Linked DNA regions of Homo sapiens: all the other regions are linked to region 5. The links are contacts of gene promoters, found by promoter capture Hi-C in blood cells and fetal thymus (Javierre and others, 2016). All regions are on one chromosome and are shown on one strand. The core of a region is centred on a gene start or on the middle of the fragment in contact, and the rest is flanking DNA. Distances in the headings are between cores, read along the strand shown. Region 1 holds the start of CREB1 (cAMP responsive element binding protein 1). Region 2 holds the start of FZD5 (frizzled class receptor 5). Region 3 holds the start of METTL21A (methyltransferase 21A, HSPA lysine). Region 4 holds the start of CCNYL1 (cyclin Y like 1). Region 5 holds the start of KANSL1L (KAT8 regulatory NSL complex subunit 1 like).

The links. Contacts are between HindIII fragments. The CHiCAGO score rates a contact against its expected background, and 5 or more counts as called.
Region 1: a contact is called between the fragment with the promoter of CREB1 here and the fragment with the promoter of KANSL1L in region 5, in 4 of 17 cell types (neutrophils, monocytes, total CD8 T cells and 1 more). The highest score is 11.2, in neutrophils.
Region 2: a contact is called between the fragment with the promoter of FZD5 here and the fragment with the promoter of KANSL1L in region 5, in 1 of 17 cell types (neutrophils). The highest score is 17.7, in neutrophils.
Region 3: the fragment with the promoter of METTL21A here is called in contact with the fragment with the promoter of KANSL1L in region 5 in 3 of 17 cell types (monocytes, fetal thymus and neutrophils); the score reaches 6.7 in monocytes.
Region 4: the fragment with the promoter of CCNYL1 here is called in contact with the fragment with the promoter of KANSL1L in region 5 in 1 of 17 cell types (neutrophils); the score reaches 8.7 in neutrophils.

What each region holds. Positions count from the first base shown.
Region 1 is chr2:207,528,541-207,531,267 of GRCh38, forward strand. It overlaps CREB1 (cAMP responsive element binding protein 1), which reads left to right and starts at 1,422. Exons shown (of 8, transcript NM_004379.5): 1 at 1,422-1,594. It overlaps LOC124907970 (a long non-coding RNA gene), which reads right to left and starts at 1,057. Exons shown (of 3, transcript XR_007088060.1): 1 at 896-1,057; 2 at 1-73. RefSeq lists silencers at 791-970, 1,641-1,770, 1,801-1,850, 2,561-2,727 and enhancers at 991-1,190, 1,451-1,550. The HindIII fragment of the contact is 5,804 bases long and covers 1-2,727 here.
Region 2 is chr2:207,768,656-207,771,355 of GRCh38, forward strand. FZD5 (frizzled class receptor 5) reads right to left here and starts at 1,251. Exons shown (of 2, transcript NM_003468.4): 1 at 610-1,251; 2 at 1-339. The coding sequence starts at 84. RefSeq lists silencers at 2-61, 472-531, 872-1,551 and enhancers at 2,102-2,151, 2,316-2,700. The HindIII fragment of the contact is 9,976 bases long and covers 1-2,700 here.
Region 3 is chr2:207,624,118-207,626,856 of GRCh38, forward strand. METTL21A (methyltransferase 21A, HSPA lysine) reads right to left here and starts at 1,277. Exons shown (of 4, transcript NM_001127395.5): 1 at 945-1,277; 2 at 112-287. The coding sequence starts at 258. RefSeq lists a silencer at 873-1,472 and enhancers at 1,743-2,447, 2,448-2,739. The HindIII fragment of the contact is 10,824 bases long and covers 1-2,739 here.
Region 4 is chr2:207,710,235-207,712,934 of GRCh38, forward strand. CCNYL1 (cyclin Y like 1) reads left to right here and starts at 1,406. Exons shown (of 10, transcript NM_001330218.2): 1 at 1,406-1,882. The coding sequence starts at 1,663. RefSeq lists enhancers at 598-797, 808-857, 1,210-2,206 and silencers at 1,078-1,527, 1,948-2,057, 2,070-2,229. The HindIII fragment of the contact is 3,390 bases long and covers 102-2,700 here.
Region 5 is chr2:210,170,013-210,172,712 of GRCh38, forward strand. It overlaps KANSL1L (KAT8 regulatory NSL complex subunit 1 like), which reads right to left and starts at 1,397. Exons shown (of 15, transcript NM_152519.4): 1 at 1,137-1,397. RefSeq lists enhancers at 422-1,056, 484-663, 1,057-1,692, 1,693-2,326 and silencers at 854-1,163, 1,284-1,613. The HindIII fragment of the contact is 7,802 bases long and covers 1-2,700 here.

The DNA of each region.
Region 1 (2,727 bases), core at 172-2,671, 2.6 Mb before region 5:
TTTCTTTACAAGAGAAGTGAGTCATGGGCGGAGTCCAGAATCGAACCCTCTCTGCTTCCTAAAGACACGTCTCCTTTAAAGGACAGAAAAAGAATGATTAAGACTTGAGGCCGGGCGCGGTGGCTCATACGTGTAACCCCACCACTTTAGGAGGCCGAGGCGGGTGGATTACCTGAGGTCAGGAGTTCCATACCAGCCTGGCCAACATGGTGAAACCCCGTCTCTACTAACAACACAAAAATTAGCCAGGTGTGGTGGCAGGTGCCTGTAATCCCAGCTACTAGGGAGGCTGAGGCAGGAGAATCGCTCGAAACCGGGAGGCGGAGGTTGCAGTGAGCCGAGATCGTGCCACTGCACTCCAGCCTGGGCGACAAGGGCTAGACTCCGTCTCATTAAAAAAAAAAAAAAAAAAAAAAAGACTTGAAACCCCAAGGAGAGGGCTGCAGAGTTCACTATCAAGGAGAATGGGGACCTAGTGGTGCCGTCCTGAGAGACCTCTGAAAGAACAATTCAGTAGTTTCCAGCCACGGAAGTCCCCCTGCTGGGTTTAGGGTGCAGTGGGTGCGAATCCCTGCTGTAGAAAACAGGCTGAGGAAAGAAAGCGACACAGGATGTTGTCTGGAGAAAGGCGGGGAGGTAGGATGGGGCATATTTCCAGGGGTCCGGGCAGGTTGTGTGGCTTGGAGGCCTCCGAGGGCCGTCGACGTCAGCCATGGTCCGGGCAGAGCCCCGCAAGGTGCCACAGTATCGGGGCCAGCGCCCCCCGGAAAAGCATGCTCCGCTGGCGGCCGCCAGGTTTCTCCGCGGAGTCTCGGAAAGGAAAACCCGTCCCCACGGGGGTCCCACGACGCCCCCGGGTCCCAGGCCCCGGGACGTTGGCAGAGGCGCAGCAGACCTTCTTCCCCAGCCCGCACGGCTCCAGCGGTCCGGCCGCGTCCCAGCCCGGGCTGCCCGTCCCCCGTCTCCCGGCGGCGTCGGAAAGTTCCCGGGGCTGGCGGCGGTCAAGAGCAGAGCCAGGGCAGCCGCAGCCGCCTTCTAGCCCGCCGCTCACCGCCGCAGGGGCAGGCCTGAGCGGGGGTTTCCACCAAGTCGCCGACACCCCTCGGGAATTCCCCCACTGGGCCACACACAAACCCCGCTTCCTCCTTCAAATTTCCGCTGCCGGCTTTACCGATGCGAAAGCCGCGGTGGAGTTTAGACCACTCCTCCCGGCGCCGGGCTCAGCCCGCCTTCGCCTTCCCTCTCCCCGCGGAACCCCTTCTCGTCGCCCGAAGAAACCCGAAGGTCTTCGGCAAGTTCCGTCCCCAGCGCGGGGGCGGGGCCGCTCGAGCTGCTCCGGGCCTAGCTCGGCTGTTTCCGTGCGCGGCCGCTGCGCACTCGGCACTGGGCGGCGCTGGCTGGCTCCCTGGCTGCGGCTCCTCAGTCGGCGGCGGCTGCTGCTGCCTGTGGCCCGGGCGGCTGGGAGAAGCGGAGTGTTGGTGAGTGACGCGGCGGAGGTGTAGTTTGACGCGGTGTGTTACGTGGGGGAGAGAATAAAACTCCAGCGAGATCCGGGCCGTGAACGAAAGCAGTGACGGAGGAGCTTGTACCACCGGTAAGAGGAGCAGGAGGAGGAGGCAGGAGCCAGAGAGAGCCGGGGGGACGGAGGGGGGACGGGGAGGCGCCGGACACCCGCGCTTGGGGCCTTCCCCTCGCAGGAGGGGCCGCGGTAAAGATGGAGCCTCCGCCCGAGCCCCACAACATCGCCGCCGCTCGCAGCGAACAAAGAATAATGGCGGCGGACTGGAGCCAGCGGCGGCCGGGGCGGCAGCGACTCTGCCTGCAGCCAGCGGCGGCGCTCATGGCGGGGGGCGGCGGGCGGCGGGCGGCGGGCGGGGTGGGAGCCGGCGGCCGGGGGTGTGTGCGGGCGGCCGGCCGCGGCGAGCTGGCGCCCGCGTTCCCGCCGCCGCCGCCGGGCCGGGCGCGGAGCCGGGAACCCGGAGCCGCCCCGGGGGAGGCCGCCCGCTCGGCCCGGCGCTGCCCCCCGCGCCGCTCGCTCGTCCGGCCCCCGCCGCCCGCCTCGCCCCCGGCCCGACCCGGCCGGGCCTCCGGGGCAGCCGCCGCCTAGGTGCCGGTGGGGGATGGAGGAGGAAGAAGGCGACAGTTGAGGGCAGAGGAGGTGAAGGTGCCTGCTGCCTTCCCGGTGGCTTCGGTGCCTGCCATGCCCGCTTCGCAAGGGGAAGAGCTGCAACGTCTGACCTACTCTTCTCTCCACTCTTTGTGCAATAAAGTTCGAAACCCAAGGTTTCCTCTCGTGCTGTATTTTATTCGTGCCCTTTCCCCCCCGCTCCTACACCGTTGAGGAAATGCTGCTTTCTGCCCTGTGTTGCTTAGTTGAGAGATGAGAGCTTGTGCTTTTGGGGGGAATTTTTGACTCCCTCACCCCTTTGCTTTTTTTTTTTTTTTAAAGTCAGTCATGGAAATGCATGCTTTTTGGGAGAAAGGGTGCTAAGAAAAACATTTATAATAACTTTTTAAACTGTTGGGATCTTATAAAAGGGAAGCTGGTGTTTGAAAACAGTTTCGGTTTTAACCCTTTTTAATAAGGTAATCATCACTTGAGATCTATCATTCTGAAACACTTCGTTGGAACGAGTATCAGCCGATGTACTCTTGTTTTACATCATTTCGCGGGGTGCAACCTTGCCAACCGCGTTTGGGTCATCTGGATCTCCCCTCACCCTCCGT
Region 2 (2,700 bases), core at 1-2,500, 2.4 Mb before region 5:
GGACGCGGCGGCCGCCCGGCCCACCAGCTGCGCTAGGAGCAGCAGCAACAGCGAGGGCGGCGCGGATGGGTCAGGCCGAGCCATCGCCCCCTCCCTCCCCTCGCCTCCAGCAGCCCGCGAGGGACGCACACAGGCAGAGGAATCCGGGCCGGGGCTTCTCCCTCCGGCGTCTCGTGTGTGGCGCCGGGGCTGGCAACCTGTTGGTTGCTTTTTCCTTTAAAGAAAACCGTCCAAAGATAAACTGCTTCGGGAAGGCGCTGCCTCCGCTGGCAGCGCTCCGCTCCTCGCCGGATAGGGCTGGGGAGAGACGGTTAGGGCTCGGATTCCAGGGAAAGGACTCTTTAAAAAAGAAGGGGGAGAAGAAAGATTGCAACCACTCCCTGTTGGAGAGGCGTCAACAGTTCGGTCCCCGCGAGCTGTCTCCAAATCTCTTAAGTTAACCCCTTTCCTTTCCTCCCCGCTCCGCCTCCTGTAACCAAACTACCGACTCCCCCACCCTCTCTTTCCAAGCTGGGCCCTTCAGGCAGTGCCCGGAGACCAGAACCCTCAGCTTCCCGGAAAAGGGCACAGGAAACGGGAGAAGAACAGGGAGAAAGGGAAGGTTCTCACCTCCACGGATCCCGCCGAGAAGAGCAGACAGTCCCCAGCCAGCCTGGGTCCTCCGTCCCTGGGTCACTCCGCTGAGAAGCGCGACTCAGAGCCGGGCTGGCGCCCGGAAAGTTTAGCGACAGGCTGGGTACCCGTGGCAGCGGCACATGGCAGCAGGTGGGGGCGACTCAGAGTGGGGGGCGCCCCCAGAACAGGGGCGGCGCAGGCCGGTCACTCGCCCTCTCCTCCTCGGGAGCCCCCCGCATGATCCAGACGGAGCCGGGCAGGGGCAGGCCGTGCGTTCTCCCCGGGGCCGGGAGCCGGACGGAGGGCGAGCGCGCCTGGCAGCACCTGGGCGGGAGGAAGGCGGGAGGCGGGGGCCGTGGGACCCCGCCGCCTCACAGCACCGCGAGCAGCCGGCGCTGGCCAGGCCGGGACTGCATGGTGAGCGCCGGCCGCCGCGTCCCGCCCGCCGCTCGCCTCCTCCCCTGCAGGGGGCTCCGCGCTCCAGTGGACTCCTGGGGGCGGTGGCGACGCTCTCGGGACGTGCCCTGCTCGGCTCCTCCCCCGCGCTCTCGCACCCTTTCGCCCACCTCTGGCGAGCACGGAACCGCGCGCGGCGGCGACCACAGCGGACTCACGGCCGCAGGCTGGCTGCCCTCTCCCGCCCCGCCCGGGTCACCTGCTTCTAATGCCCGCCGGGAAGCCCCGCCCCGGCTCCGCCCCCTCAGGCCCGGGCGCGGTTGGTGGGCCGCCTCGCCAAGCTCTCCGCGCGTCCCCGCCCACTGCCCCGCGGGCTCGGCCTTTCCCCCGGCGCCCTCTGGCCCCGCCAGGAGCGGGCAGCCAAGGAGCGCTGACCAATCGCGGGCCTGGAGGAGATGGGGGCGGGGCGAATGCTAATCATGCCGCTCTGGGCACCCGGGCGGGAAGCCCTTGCCAGAAGTCCCTCCGGAGTTCTCTGCCCGCGCCCTGGGTGCAGGACTCGCTCCTGTAACTTCCTGGCTTATGCACCTTTGCTCCCAGGGCCCCTGCCCTTTCTGCCTGCAGCTAAGCGTCCTTACAGAGTTCAGTGCTTCTTTGAAAGAACTGCTCAAGGAATCACTCTTAGGCGTGGCTGTCTCCCTTCCGAGCTGTCTTGGAACTGTGTGAAAGAAGAGAGGATACTTACTGAGCCCTTTACTGTGTGCCCAACAAAGTGTTAATCGGTTACATCCTTTTTTTTTTTTTTTTTTTTTGAGACGAGTTGTTCTGTCTCCCAGGCTGGAGTGCAGTGGCGCGATCTCGGCTCACTGCAACCTCTGTCTCCCGGGTTCAAGCGATTATCCTGCCTCAGCCTCCTGCGTAGCTGGGATTACTGGCGCCCGCCACCACGCCCAGCTAATTTTTGTATTTTTGGTAGAGACGGGCTTTCACCATGTAAGGCTGTTCTCGAACTCCTGACACCGTGATCTGCCCGCCTCGGCCTCCCAAAATGCTGGGATTACAGGTGTGAGCCACCGCGCCCGGCCCGTTTACATCTTAAGACAAGATCTCACTCCTTACAACAATTCTGAGGCAGGTACTTCCTACAGGTGAAGAAACCGAGACTGAGACTTGGCCAAGGCAACCGAGCTAATCATAGTTCCCCCAAGAAAGGGCGACCTCGGCAAGCAAGTTCACCTCCGTATTCCGATCACCTGGCACATAGTAGCCGCCCAAATGGCAACCCTGGGATTCGAACCCAGGTAGTTGGTCAGCGGCACTCACCATCGTAGCCGCCCCTCCCCCCATACTATCGCAGCCTCCCTGGCTTCGACCTTTACTTTTGCATCTCTTAACAAAATCTTGTTGTGACAAGAAAATGGATTTCTTTCTGCCTTTAGAAGACCCAGAAAGATGTGAGTCCTTTATTGGTCGAGGTTTATAATCCCAGGCAGTTCCGAAGTCGCCCGCAGAGAGAAGCGATACCGACCCAGGGTTCTGTGCTGGGCAGGGCGCCGGCCTCCCCGTGCCCTTCCGTCCCCGGCTGCCTGCTGCTAAGCCGCGCACTTGCGCGCCGCGGGGGGTCGGAGGGCGCACCGATGGCGGGGACACGGCGGCGCTCTTCAGTTGCGCAATTATGCTACAAGTTTT
Region 3 (2,739 bases), core at 27-2,526, 2.5 Mb before region 5:
AGTGTATGCTATGTGAATTATATCTCAATAAAGCTGTTCTAAAAAAAATAAAAAATAAAAGCCAGTCTTGCAAGTGTGAACGTTTTCAGAGGTCCCCCAGGGCTTACTTACCGCATCCCAAACCACCGCTGCGACTCCCAGGTGTCTCCAGTCCTGCCGGATCTGGATCGTGTGGTTTGCAAAGGAAAAAGTTGCAAGAGGCTTGTGGAATTTCTGCAACCCAAATTCCGTGGTCTCCTCATAGGGCACGAGGGCCATTCCGCCTGCACCCCGCCCTCTGCTCAGACCTGCCGTGCAAAAGAATCCTGGGTGACGCTCTGGCCAAAAGATACATTATCTGTTCTTAACTAACTCCAAATGCTTTTAAGGTCGTTTACAAGTTCAAAAGAAAAAAAGAAACAGGTGGAGGAAGCCTTTGTCCAATTTCTTTTGCATGGCTCTTCCGAATCTGAGTGAGATTTGGCTCGGAATTTGTGTCAACGGATGTGTTTGGGGAAGAAGAAAAAAAAAGCCCAGAACATTCCAACTTCCGCAGAATACCCTATACACTGCACTGCTACCACTCCGTGAATTCAGAACTACACAAGCGGCGGAAGCGGCGGTGATCGCCCAGGGCCCCAGAGCAGCGCGGAAAGCAGCGCTTCCAACCCAGACCCGGGCGCCCGGACTGCAGCTGCAGCCAGCCGGGCGGCCCGGGTTCTTTCGCTACGGTTTCGCTACCCACCTCCCCTCCTCCATCGGCTGCTTCGATAGTGATAACAATGGGACAGAACCTGCCCTTAGACTGGGTGTTAGCGGTTTGATAAACCAGAAATACATGGTCGCCGCAGTTCCGTCTCCCCGACCCTGGAAGTGAGCGACACTGGGGGCCTCCAAGCGGCTCGCGGGGACAGCGGGGACTCGGAGGCCTCCCCGAACTCCCCCTATAGCTGCCCCCCACTCACCCCTCTCCCGGGACGACCAGTGCGCCCTTCCTGCCCGGGGGCCCCGGAGCTGCGGCAACCCTCCAGGGGTGAGAGGGAGACCAGGCGAGGGGGGTCACAGGGCCTCTTAGGATCCCCAGGCCATACGGGGCGCCGTGAGCTGCCCGGCGGAGCACCCAGGGCTCGCCCAGGCCGGGCTGAGGCGCCGCCACGCCGGTACTTACGGCCCGGGAGGCGGTCCCGCGTGGAGCGCGCGCTCCGCTTTCCCCGCCCCGGGCTGGCTGCGAAAACCGCCGGCCTTAAAGAGCCCGCGACGCGGGGGCGGGCGGCCCCGGCCCGGAGCCACGCATTTCCGGTCTCCCGGCACCCAGCCTCCGGCAGGTGCCCCCGGAGCTCACGGCGAGGGCGGGGCCGGGCCGTGGCGCGGTGGAGGAGTGACGTTGCGGGAGGGGGGACCGGGGCTTTCCCTCGTGCGTCCCCAGGGTACACGGACGACTTAATCCGTTTCCCCCGCCGCCGAGGGAGGCGCTGTGGGGGCGGGAGCAAGAGTGAGATCGGGGTGCCGAACTGCCGCGGGTGCACAGGGAGAGCATGGGGTGCCCTGGGCTCTCCTAGCGGGAGAGAAAAGCCACCCACCTGGCGCTGAATGTGCCTCTCGACCTTTTCTATCATGTGCTCCGCCGCTCTCTGCCTCTGACTTTGTCGCTTGCGCGTTGTGCCTGTTTTTTAAAGGTGGCGCGTTAGCGGATGATGGAGACAGCTCGCTCCGAAGAAGGCATGGTCACTCTAGTCCCCGCGTCTCCACGGTGGGGTCAGAAGCGGCGTAATAGCCCGCTTGGCGGCAATCGAGTGGAAAAGTCACAAAACCCTTTTCAACTAAAGCACAGTGGGGGAAGTGAACACGTGGCGCCCGAGTCCAAGTTTTTAAAGTGGGGCGGGGGTCGGCGGGCTCTGGCTGCAGTCGGAAGCGCGGAGCTCTGGGCGTGCGCTCGGCTCCAGCCCCGGCCCCAGGCGGCGCTGCAGACTCCAGTGCCCCAGTCTCCCTCCTCCCGATGCCAAGACGCACCTGCCCGTGAGGACCCACGCTGGACGTGGAAGGTGCCGAGGGCCTGGTACCCTGGCCGCAGGCCCTGGCAGAGCGCGCGGCTGGAGTGGGTCCATTGAGTGGGACCGTGCGGGGACCGGCATCCTCCCGGGGCAGGCTTCTTTTTCCTCCTGGGGCCCCTCGCCCCACACCGCCCGCTGCGCTCTCAGCGCGGCTGCACGTTAGAACCAGCTGGGGTAAACCTCCCTTACCAGTCCCCCGCCCCAAGAGCTGGCCATGGGAGGGGGCCCGAGCGCTGATTTTTTTGTTTGGTTTTTTGCTTTTGTTTTTGTTTTTGTTTTTGTTTTGAGACGGAGTCTCTCTCTGTCGCCCAGGCTGGAGTGCAAGGGCGCGAACTCGGCTCACTGCAGTCTCCGCCTTCCGGGTTCAAGCGATTCTCCTGCCTCATTCTCCCGTGTAGCTAGGATTACAGGCCTGCGCCAGCACGCCAGCTAATTTTTGTGGGATTTTGTTTGTTTGTTTGAGACGGAGTCTTGCTCTGTCGCCAGGCTGGAGTGCAGTGGCGCGATCTCGGCTCACTGCAGCCTCCACCTCCCGGGTTCAAGCAGTTCTCCTGCCTCAGCCTCCAAAGTAGCTGGAATTACAGGCGCCCGCCGCCACACCCGGCTTTTTTTGTGTTTTTAGTAGAGACGGGGCTTCACCATGTTGGCCAGGCTGGCCTTGAACTCCTGATCTCCGGTGATCCGCTCATCTCAGCCTCCCAAAATGCGG
Region 4 (2,700 bases), core at 156-2,655, 2.5 Mb before region 5:
AGAAATTGGGACGCAGAAGTTAAGTTACTTCCGCAAGCTTACATGACTGCTCAGGGTGAGGGTCCCTGATCATGATGATCAGAAAATAAAGGTAGAAATCAAGCTTAGGGAGGAAGTGACATTGTGTGTATATATATATATTTGTTTATTTATTTTTATTTTTATGTTTTATTTTTTTGAAACGGAGCCTAGGTCGCCCAGGCTGGAGTGCAATGGCGCGATCTCGGCTTACGGCAACCTCTGCCTCCCGGGTTCAAGTGATTCTCCTGCCTCAGCCTCCCGAGTAGCTGGGAATACGGGCGCGTGCCACCATGCCCGGCTAATTTTTTGTATTTTTAGTAGAGACGGGATTTCACCGTGTTAGCCAGGATGGTCTGGATCTCCTGACCTGGTGATCCGCCCGCCTCGGCCTCCCAAAGTGTTGGGATTACAGGCATGAGCCACCGCGCCCGGCCGGGATTGTTTTTAAGGGTTAAATAAATATACCACAGTTGGAACACTGTCTGGCACATAGTGCTTGCCAAATGGTAACTATTCATCTTCATGGAATCAAGACTGTGGTGCCCCACTGCATGGTTCTCAGTTTTGCGTGAGAAAATCGTGCTTTCTGTGCTGTTTTTAGTACAAGAAGAGAAACCTGGAAGTCCCTGCCTAGAGGAGAGAAACAGGCAAGAAAAGGGAGTTGGCGAGTCCCAGCATTTCAGAGTTGGCAGGGACGAGTTAGGTCCCTATTTTATGGATGAGGAAGTGGAAGGGTGACGTGTCCTCGAGTCTCATTCAAGACCCACAGCCACAACTCTTTATGGAGAGTAGGACCAGGGCCCCAGGGTTGCTATGATCACGTTGCAGGTGAAAACTAACGCTCATTGGAAGACAGGAGCGGAGCACTGAGTTACAAAAACAGTTAACAATTTGGGTGTAACCAAGTTTAGTGAGCAAACGAAAGCTGTCAGACTCGGAAGAAGAGTTGCTAATGGAGCGAACTCTTTACTAATAACGGCTTTCTACAGAGATCATTGACACAGCTTCCAGTTACAAATGCCCGTGCGCTTCCAGTAGGACCGGAAAGCTCCCAGCAGCCAGCGATGAATGAAAACCCGAGTCTGGGATAGCGGCGTGAGGGGCTGGGCAGCTGCCAGGCGGGGGCGGGGCAGCAGGTCACGTGCCTGGCTTCGAGGCGGGCGCCGGAGGGGGAACTCTGACCATGATTGGTTCCTCCTAACCAGGTGACCGCAGGTCGCGTTCCGGTTGGCAGGCACCGGCCAGGGCCAGCGGCCTTCAGTCGGTAGGCGGCGGCGGAAGGAGGAGGAGCTCCAGCCGCGCTCTCTCCCGGCAGTGGCTGTGCTTCACAGCGCTTGTTGGGTTCCCCACCCCTTTTAAATAAGCCGGGCTGGTCACCGCCCTCGCAGACGAGTCAGCTTAAGGGAGGCGGCGGCAGCGCGGCGGTGGGGGTGCGGCCGAGGCCCGAGCCCTGCCCGGGGCCGGGCCGCGGGGCGGGCGGGCGAACCGCGGGCGAGGCGGCGTCTGCTTGCGCGGTGCAGCCCCAGCGTAGCCCGGGGCTGCCGGTGCCGGCCGCGCCATTGTTGGGGGAGGGGGCGGCTGTTGAGGGCGGCGGAGTAGGGGGCGAGCGAAGGCGGTGGCAGAGAGGAGCGGAGGCTTCCCATGGGGAACACGCTGACCTGTTGCGTGTCCCCCAATGCCAGCCCCAAGCTGGGCCGGCGCGCGGGGTCGGCGGAGCTGTACTGCGCGTCCGACATCTACGAGGCGGTGTCCGGGGACGCGGTGGCGGTAGCGCCCGCTGTGGTGGAGCCTGCCGAGTTGGATTTCGGAGAGGGCGAGGGCCACCACCTGCAGCACATCAGCGACCGCGAGATGCCCGAAGGTAAGGAGGCGGCGGATGCCATCCGCCCTCGGGCTCACCTCTGCCCGCCTCCTCCCCCAGAGTCCCCCGGGAGGCATCCGCCGCCTCGGGCTCCTTCCTGCCGGTAGCCGGCCCCGGGACGAAGGCTGGTTCTGCCTCGCGTCCCCACCCCTTATTCTTGCCCTGCTGCGTCTGGCCAGTTTCTTTTCCTCCTCCTTACCGTAACGCCCAGTTCTTGCTCCCGCTTCCCATTCTCCCAAGCCGGCGTGGGACCCTCTAGTCCGCCGCCCTTCTTGTTTGTAGCTCTGTTCATTGTCTGGTGGGACTTTGCTAAGACTTTTGGGGTATATTGTTTTCCTTTTCTCAATGGAAACTCAAATACCTCAACTTCGGAGTACTCATCCCATTCCCTCCCTTAACCCATCCAGATGGTACCTAAGTGAAGGAACCAGGTAAGGGTCTGATTGTTCCTTCCTCCCATCCGTGAAGATAGCTGATGCCCGCGACAGTTTAGACCCAGATGTTTGAGGATTTCTTATCTAGACTCAAAATAGAGGTTGCCATAGGAGACACTATATGGTATTCCTAATAGGTTAAGTCGGCGTGAAAGAAGCTGCTTTATTCCTTCCAACTATAATTTGAACACAGAAAGAAAGAAAATGGGGGGAGGGGCGTAAAATGACTGTGAAGGGTGTGAGAGGTTATTACCAGGGGTGCAGACAAGTTGTTTTTTTGAGACGGAATCTCGTTTTGTCGCCCGCCCAGGCTGGAGTGCAGTGGCGCGATCTCGGCTCGCTGCAACCTCCGCCTCTCGGTTTCAAGCGATTCCTCTGCCTCAG
Region 5 (2,700 bases), core at 147-2,646:
GAGGTGACTAACCCAAAGAAATGGCTAGTTATTAAGAACGGGAAAGGCAGAGACCACTCACTGTTAAGCCTCTTTCTCAATACTGAATTATTTTTAGAGTCATTTTTTCCTAGTCAGAAATTGCCAGTTTTGTCTGCAGTGCTCACTTCACTTAGGTTTTGTGGCTAACAAACCTGCCCCATCCAGCAATATTTAAAATTATTACTGACCCAAACTCAGATGAAGTTAAGCAAACTGGCTAAAGACGAAGGAAGTTTGTCTCCTAAACCTCGCCAGAACATGAATGTCCTGAAGTTTGGGGAATCAAAAACGGAATGTGCTTACCACAGTTCAAACAAAAAAACAAACAAAAACGGACTCTCCCAGAGTAAGAAAACATTACAAGAACGTCCATCCAGTGCCTGCCCTCCCGACTGCAAAGCCAGCCTCTTTCCTTTCCTGTGGTTTCTGAAACGGCCAGGATACCGCCTGGTATTTCTTGCTACCAAACACCACGCAATCTGACTTTTTCCAGCAAGACCGGTCCCTTCCTCAGCACACCGGTGACACAAACTTGGAAGCACCGTCCCTCAAAAATCCCCTAGATTCTGCTCTATCCCATCTAACTCTAAAGCCCAAATCTACGTTTTCCTGAAAGAAAGTGTGAAATAAATAAAATAGGGGTCTCATCAAATCCAGTGGGCTCCGCCTCAGAGCCGCCTCAAAAGAGCCGTCACCACACCCCCAATGGGTGAGGCTCAGCCGATGAGGCAAGAGGCGGGTCCAGGAAACCACGTGTTCTGCCTTCTGCGCACGCGCCAGCCAAAACAAAAGGGAGGTCTGCCAAGCCCCACCCCCCACGTGACCGGCGTCCAGGTCCGCCCCCACCCCTCCCTAGACCCCTTCCCTCCCCAGCTGCCAAGGCTGTTAGGTTTAGCCGTTTAAATTTGGCTGCGGTCAGACCCCCGCCCTAGAGCGCGATCCCGTGCCGAGACCAGAGTCCAGCAGCCCAGAGGATTCGGGGGGCGAAGGGGCTGCCGGTCGGTCGCCTGACCCGCAAGTCCACCCGGCAGTCTTCTCCCCTCCCCGCGCTGCCGCCGTCCCCAAGAGGGAAGACCCACCCCCGTCATCCCGCCGCTGAGACGCCGGCCACTCGCCTGCTGGGGCGCCCTGGCTCCCCTCCGCCGCCGCACCTTCGGTCCGGCCGTGGTGGGGGCTGCTGAGGTGATCTCTAGCTGCCCGCCCGCCTCCCCCACCCGGGGCGCCGCTGACTCGTCTCCAGAGCGCGCCCCGCTCCCGCCCCGGCCGCCGCCGCCGCCGCCGCCGCCGCCGCCGCCGCCGCCGCCGCCGCGGTTTAACAGTCCGCCCGCTGCCCGCAGCTCCGTGCGGCTCGGGGGGACGGAACCCTGCCGCGGTCTGGGAGCAGTGGGCGGGGCCCGGCGCTAGCCAATGGCAACGGGGGAGGGGCAGCGCCATGCAAATGAAGCGGGTGGCGGGGAAACCCCGGCAGGGGGCGGGGCCTGCAGAAGCGGCTCGGAGTGTTCTGGAAGTGGCAGGAGCACGACTCCCTTAACTCTGGTGCAGGGTTTACCTCGGCTCCCTCGGGACGGGTTCCGTGCAGCTCCTGCTTCCTCCCTTCTCTTTCCCAGTGCCATCCCTGGCGAGGGGGAAAAAAAAAAACACGGCCAGGAGACTTCCCACCCCTGCTTTGCTATTTTTGTACCTCCGTGACAGAAAAACAAAACCCTGAGGAAAAGTCAGGCGACTTCATTCCCTGCCGTCCGCGCCGGGGCCTCGACTACTGCTGGCGTCCGCGGCTTTCGCCCGCCGCTCCACAGGCGAGTTTTAAGAGATTTCTCACAATTGTCAAGTCCGCAAGTCTCCGTGCGTTTGCTTTTATTTGGGCCGTGCGTTCAAATGCGCTCATAATTCTTTCTGACCCTCAGAGGGGCCCTGAAGTAGGTGACAAATTTGCCTTGGATCCAACTGGGTGGTTTTATGATTAAAAAAAAAAAAACAGACAAAGCAGTTTTAAGTCTCTACAAATCTGGTTTGAGTGGCGCTGGACCTAACTCCCCTCTGCAGTAACGCTGTCAAATAAACAAACGGAGTTTATGTGGAGATAGTTGGCCAGCGACACCCAAAAACACTTCTGAGCGTCTTGCACCTGGCCCCGCGAACCGCTCACCACAAAACAAACCTGCACCTGGGCACTTCCCCAGCCAAGAACTCGATTTTTTTAAAACTGAACTCTAAATGTAGCTTCTTAGATGTTGTATCACAGTCTTTCCTAAGCACCGAATTTACACATGAAATGATTTAAGGAACGAAGAGCACTAGGCTTTTTAAGCCAGAAGGATAATAGCCATTATTTTAACCTTATCAATTGGATAAGATCCCGGGGGCGGAAGAGGGGAGAAATCCAAGGAATTGCAGTCATAACAAAGCGTAATCCGTAACATAGATAACTGGAATTGGAAAATTAGCTACTCGTTCCTGGTTCTTCTAGTAGATTGTGATATTACTGAAATAATTTTTATGACCAGCTGCATTTATTGGAGCTATATTTTTTTAATTACTGAATAATTGCACCTCGATATGGGGCAAGGGAAGAATTTTAGGAAATTGATTTACTTTCATTGTAATAAAAATTGTAAGCTAATGATGTGTTGTGAAAAATAATTAAATCAGTAAGTATTTATTGGATATTTACCATATTCA